2 separate regions of the Homo sapiens genome follow, and region 1 is linked to region 2. Evidence: promoter capture Hi-C in human tissues and cell types (Jung and others, 2019). All regions are on one chromosome and are shown on one strand. The core of a region is centred on a gene start or on the middle of the fragment in contact, and the rest is flanking DNA. Distances in the headings are between cores, read along the strand shown.

Region 1 (2,798 bases), core at 52-2,551, 1.9 Mb before region 2:
CCCGGAACTACCATCGAAAAGCTCTGGACCTTGGAAGAGTTAGTACTGTTTGAGTCTCAAGCTCCCCTTTTATAAAAATAAAGCTAACCATACCTCCCCTTAAAATGTGAAGGGGAGGATGAAGTCTTATGGACAAAGAACACAGCAAGGTAGCAGAGGCATTTAATAACCGGCAGTTATTATCCCTGGACAACTAAAAGCAAAACATGCTCCCTGTCGGCAGACAAGCACAATCACCACAATCTGGCAAATTTACTCAGCCCACTCTTGGCAAAAAGGAAGTGATGATATCTTTGCATTTGTGTATGCAGATGACAGGCCACATCCTCATTCTTTGAGGTTAGGTGGCAGCACTGATCTGTCTCCAAATGACAAAACTCATGCTTGAGGCCAGTGGCCAATATATCACATATCCCTGAACCAGCACCTCTTTGTTTTCTACAAATAAAGATAATTATGGCCAATTTACTCACTGAAAGGGTACAGGAATGTAGATATTCCAAACAGTTGATATTCTGATATTTGAAATCCTCATGTTTATTTAACTAAAGCTTCATTTGCTCTTGTAGAGTTTTCTGTTAATAACTTGAATTCTGCATAAAATGCCAGCTGAATCTGTCAACCCTGAAGGCAGGAGGGTACCAAGATCCAGATTCTGCCCCTATCCTCTCCATCATCCCCCATCATCCATACTCCAGTGACAAGATGCTTCTTTCAAAGTCTAGAAGAGCCCAAAGGCAGGCCTCATCTCTGTAGAACCTTGAGCACAGGAATAATGATTAAATGACTATAGAACTCCACATACAAAGTAAACTGAAGAAATTAAAGTGGTAATAAACCTATACACAGAGACAGTCAACAGAATTAAAATTAAAGCACTCCAGTAAGTTACATCTACAGTATTATCTTCTCCCCTCAAAACTGCTGAGATAAATGGAATTCCATGGAAATTTCCTAAAATAAATGCTACGTAATTCACATACCAAATACACAGAGATTAAGTACCATTTTTATCAATCTGCTTAAAATTAATGACCTCAAATCTTAATACAAAAGTAATCAGCAATTTTTAAAATACATCTGAAAGCAAGTGAATGTTATTGCACCTAAAAGTGCTGAAAATACACTATATAAACCCACAAAACCATGAGATTTCAACACAGCATGGCTCTATCTACTATATAACCTATAAATGTAAGCATTTTCAACCTAAGAGAACCAAATTGCTAATCATCTCTACCCTGCCACAAAGAAATCACCCTGACTATATACCACATTCCCACAACTAAGGAAAGGAGGAAAGACAGAAGTGGAGAGGTGGAGAGAGGGTGTGTAGGGAAGAGACATTAACATTCTACAGTGCTGCGACAGTGTTTCTTCTTGGAGGTAATAAGTAATGCAGAGCGGATGCTCCTGTTCGTCTTTTGGTGATGAATCCAACACAAGATTAAAGTCATGAAAGAGGAGCTAAAACATCTGGCCTCCAGTACTAACCAACCAACAGCAGAACGGAGACACCCCAGCTCCCATGAGCATTGTGAAACATCTTACTAAATACACCTTCTTAATCAGGATTTGTATCTGAATTCTCTGCTGGGATGAAAAGCTAACCAGGATTGTCTCTGCCCTGCCCTGACATGAGAGCAACCAGAAAGGAAAAAATGAGAAGCAATGTACTTCACTGCTACTGAGCCTGCCATGCTGAGCCAGAACTCTGCTTTACATTCTTAGCCTCTCACTTGGTCCTCATAGCAATCCTATGAAGTAGGAACTATTAATATCCCCATTTTACAAACAAAGGAACTAAGAAACAGAGAAGTGAAGTGGCTTGCCCCAGGTCACACAGTACATAATAGAGTTGAGAGTCAAACCTAGAAAACCTTTTTTCAGAGACCATGCTTTTAACCACTAGCCTTCTCTTCTTTTATTTGAAATGAAATATAATCTTGCTGTAAAGACAGCTCAGGAAATGTAAAGCCATCCTGTATCCATCCCACTCACCTTACTGCCCACTCTACCATTAAAGGTAAATCTCAAAATCTTTCCTACAGTAATCCTAGTCAAACCACTCAAGCCCTGGGAAGTTTACTTTGTACTTCTGCATCATTTAATCTTCGGAGCCCAAAGAGGATGACAGATGTGGGTGTTTTAACCTCCAATTAACAAAGCAGTACTTTCAGAGAGTAACTGAATACTACTACAAAGCTCTAAGTGGCAAAGCCAAGGTGTGAACTCCCCAGTCCACTTAGAAATGATGCCTTTTGGAAATATTTTATCCACTTTGCCTCAATGAATCAAATCCCATGGGATGACTGTAACCTCCATTCTATAACATTACACAGAGACAATTTGCCCCAGGATTTAGAAAATGTGGATAGAACACAAAGAAACCTACAGGAAGTAAGTATCAGATATCAAGAAGGCCTTCATAGGCAAAGTAGTAATCCACAGCTGTTTTCATCTGTGGCAAAGTGGTGGAAAGACAAAGAATCTGCCAATAGATAAGGGTAAGAAGATACCAGCTGAACTGTTAACAAACTTTTAATGTCTCCATGTGAGCTGAAATGATAGATTAGAATCTCCAGGAGCCCCAAAACACAGCAAATCTGCATCCACTTGCCAACTCTTTCCTGTGGGCCTTAATCAAATACACATGGGTAGTGCACAAGGTGCTAGGGCAGGAGAGCTGAGAGAGCCCCTATGTCACGTCAGGCACCTGTGAAGTCCCTAGATGCAGAGCAGCAGCCTGACACCAGGAGGAAGGCAAGTAAGTGGACAGAAATCAGCTTTTACCATCT
Region 2 (2,945 bases), core at 211-2,710:
CCACGCAGACACCACACACCACACACAATCTCAAGGGGATTTCAAATCCCTCAGACTGAATGTCTGTGGTAAGAGGTGGGTTCTAGGGGCAAGCTCTTGCGGGGAAGGGCCATAGCCGGCAGGACCCCGTGGCTTAAGGCTACTGACCAGATGGAGTTCTTTCTGAAACTCCTCTTTGTGATTTTTCTTTTTGAGTTCCAGGCAGTTGTTCTTCAGACCCCTATACTTCTCCTTGCCATCCCCCTTGTCTGTTTTCACGATGTCCTTAGTTCCGCTGAGCTCCACGGAGTAAATTTCTGGGGTTTTCTGAAAGAGAAGCCCAGGTGCAATATTGGCCCCAAATGGGGTTTCCGAAGAGGTGCTGAGCGCCCCTCTGCGGGGTCAGGACCTGCAGGAGTCAGGAGCCCCTTCTCCCTTTCCTTCCCTCCTCTGGGGAGGCCGGAGGGAGTCGGACAGTGGAGTCTCTCCCCCACCTCCCGCCGACCTTGGCTTCCTCTCCGTCCGTGTAGAGGGGAGGCGGGGTGGGCACAGGCCAGCCAGCAGCTCCTCAGGGTGACCCTTCTCTGGGTGGAGCAGGTGGGAAGTTACCCCCCCAACTCCTGACTGATGCCTCCAAGGAGCTGTGAGGTTTCCTTAGAACCTCGAGGTTCCTTAGGCACCTCGAGGTTTCCTCTGAGGTGTCCTTCCCAGGGGACACAACAGCTGTGCGTCCTGTTTCTTGGGGAGGAGGCACCCACTAAGCTTACGACCCTCAGTCCTGATCAGGGGGCCCTAACCGGAAGTCTTTTCAGACCGCAACGAATCCATGTCACCCCATCCTCCGAGTCGGAGCCCGCAGGTGCCATGGAGCTGGCCTAGGACCCCTTGGCCCCTTCTCGCTCCTCTGGACTGGCTTCTTTCCCCAGCCAGCCCCGGCGGCCGCACGGAGCCGTGGCGGGGAGTCAGAGAAGCGGTGCCCAGGCCGGGGGGCGCTCAGAGGAAAGGCGGCCTCCCCTTGCCCCGGGACGGGGCGTTTCTCCTCTTCGCCTTTTCCTCGCTTCCCGTCAGCCTGCTCCGGTCCCCGGGGCCTTGGCCCAGCGTCTCGCATCCTCGGCCGGCGCGGGGGCTGCACGCACCTGGTGCATGCTGGGCTGGTGGCGCCGCGGGCTGCGGGCGTGGAGCGCGGATCCGGGACCGCAGCGGCGGAGCGCACGGTGGGGGGCCTCGTGTGGCTGTGGCAGTGGCAGTGGCTGAGGTGTTGGCGGTGGAGATACCGGCGGCGGCGCGGGCCCTGCACGCACCTCCGCGGCCGATCGCCAGCCGCTGCACCGGGGAGGTGGCACCAGCCTTAAATGCCGCCCGCCCCGCCCACGTCCCCGCCAGGGCGCAGGCCAGCGGACGCCTCGGAGGGTAGGAAACCCGCCGGCGCGCGCGCAGGGAGGGGGACCGACAGCTAGGGGTCGGGAGAGTCCAGGATTGAGGACCCCCTGGGAATCCCCTTCCCTTTAGTAGCCGAACGCCAGGGGGCGGGGTCTCTAGGGGGCGGGTCCGGCATCCAGGTGAGTACAGCCCTGGTTCCGCTGGGCGCCCAGAGCCGGACCAGCTGCTCCGGCGAGCTCCCGGCACGCCCACGTCCTGTCCAGGCTTCCCTGAAAACCCACACATGCCTTTTTTTAAAAATGTAATTTGCCTACCAATAAATCAATTTATAAAAATGTGTATGCAGAGAAGGGGAAATTGCAGTTTCTAACAGCAACTACTGTTGGAGATGTCCCGGCTAGAAAAGGCCAATGTGTTTTTGAGAATGGATTTAGATAGGTAAATTCAAGCTTCCGAGAGAATTTGGGAATAACTGAGAGACTCTGAAGAGTAGCTGAATTAATTTGCCGGATCCAGATAAGAATTTGGAATTCTGAAACAATTTGGAGAGGGAATGGGGAGGAGAGATGAGAGGATTAGGGTCGGTGAGACCACAGGAACCTGGGGCCCCAGGCTGCGGGTGCGCAGGAGCGGAGGCTGTTGGCTGGACTGGGCTGGAGAGGTCTGTCTCCACCTATTTATGTCACTCCCAGCTGAGACTCTATACATGAAGGAGAAAAGAATTTCTGACCCTGAAAGTTGATGTGCATACTAAAGCAGTGGTTGTTTTATACTGCTAAGTTTGGGTTGGTTTGTTATGCAGCAATAGATAACTGGGACATGCTCCATGCTCTTAGTGCCCAGCATGAGTTTTTGCACAGGATAGAAAAGGTATTTTCCCCCTGACACTTGAAACATAATTACTCCAGATGAGAAAGATAGCCTGAAAACAATATATCAGAGAGATATTTAGCAGTTAACAGTGGAGGAAATCAAACACGTTCTTTTAAAAGAATGAATCGTGAAGTCTTAAAGTCAGTGAAGAATATTAATTAATGGAGAGGAACATAAAAAATAAAACCCACGAATAGAGTTTAGTAATCAGCACCTATTTAGAAGAACAATAAGAAATTGACATGATTGAAATATATGAAAGGGAGTAGAGATAAGTTTCAAAAGAGGGGGCACTTTATTGGGCCCTTGATGCTCTGCTAATAAGTTTCCATTTAGATAAGGACTAATAGGAGGGTGCTAAGTTTTATTCTTTTTGAAAGTTATATATCAAATATGGTAAGAAAGATTGTCATTTTGACCATATTTAAAATGACTAAGAGTGAGGAGTCCAGAGAAGCAGCAAAAGTAACAATCCCATCATGCAGTGACTAGAACATCTGGCAGAAAACATGAAGAGCATTGGGTACATTTAGAAAAGGTAGAAGAAAAACAATAAGCTTGTGCCCGGCCGGGCGCGGTGGCTCACGCCTGTAATCCCAACGCTTTGGGAGGCCGAGGCGGGCGGATCACGAAGTCAGGAGATCGAGACCATCCTGGCTAACACGGTGAAACCCCATCTCTACTAAAAATACAAAACAATTAGCCGGGCATGG

What was found. Contacts are between HindIII fragments. The study calls those that stand out against the background at their distance.
Region 1: a fragment that was not itself captured here is called in contact with the fragment with the promoter of ATP12A in region 2 in 1 of the 25 tissues and cell types used here (dorsolateral prefrontal cortex).

The regions. Positions count from the first base shown.
Region 1 is chr13:26,599,369-26,602,166 of GRCh38, reverse strand. All of the region lies in intron 1 of WASF3 (WASP family member 3), which reads right to left. Among named protein-coding and RNA genes, the nearest start is that of WASF3, 43 kb to the right of the region's middle. The HindIII fragment of the contact is 5,587 bases long and covers 1-2,798 here.
Region 2 is chr13:24,678,923-24,681,867 of GRCh38, reverse strand. ATP12A (ATPase H+/K+ transporting non-gastric alpha2 subunit) reads right to left here and starts at 1,460. Exons shown (of 23, transcript NM_001676.7): 1 at 1,116-1,460; 2 at 148-306. The coding sequence starts at 1,124. RefSeq lists a silencer at 1,103-1,412. The HindIII fragment of the contact is 3,620 bases long and covers 1-2,299 here.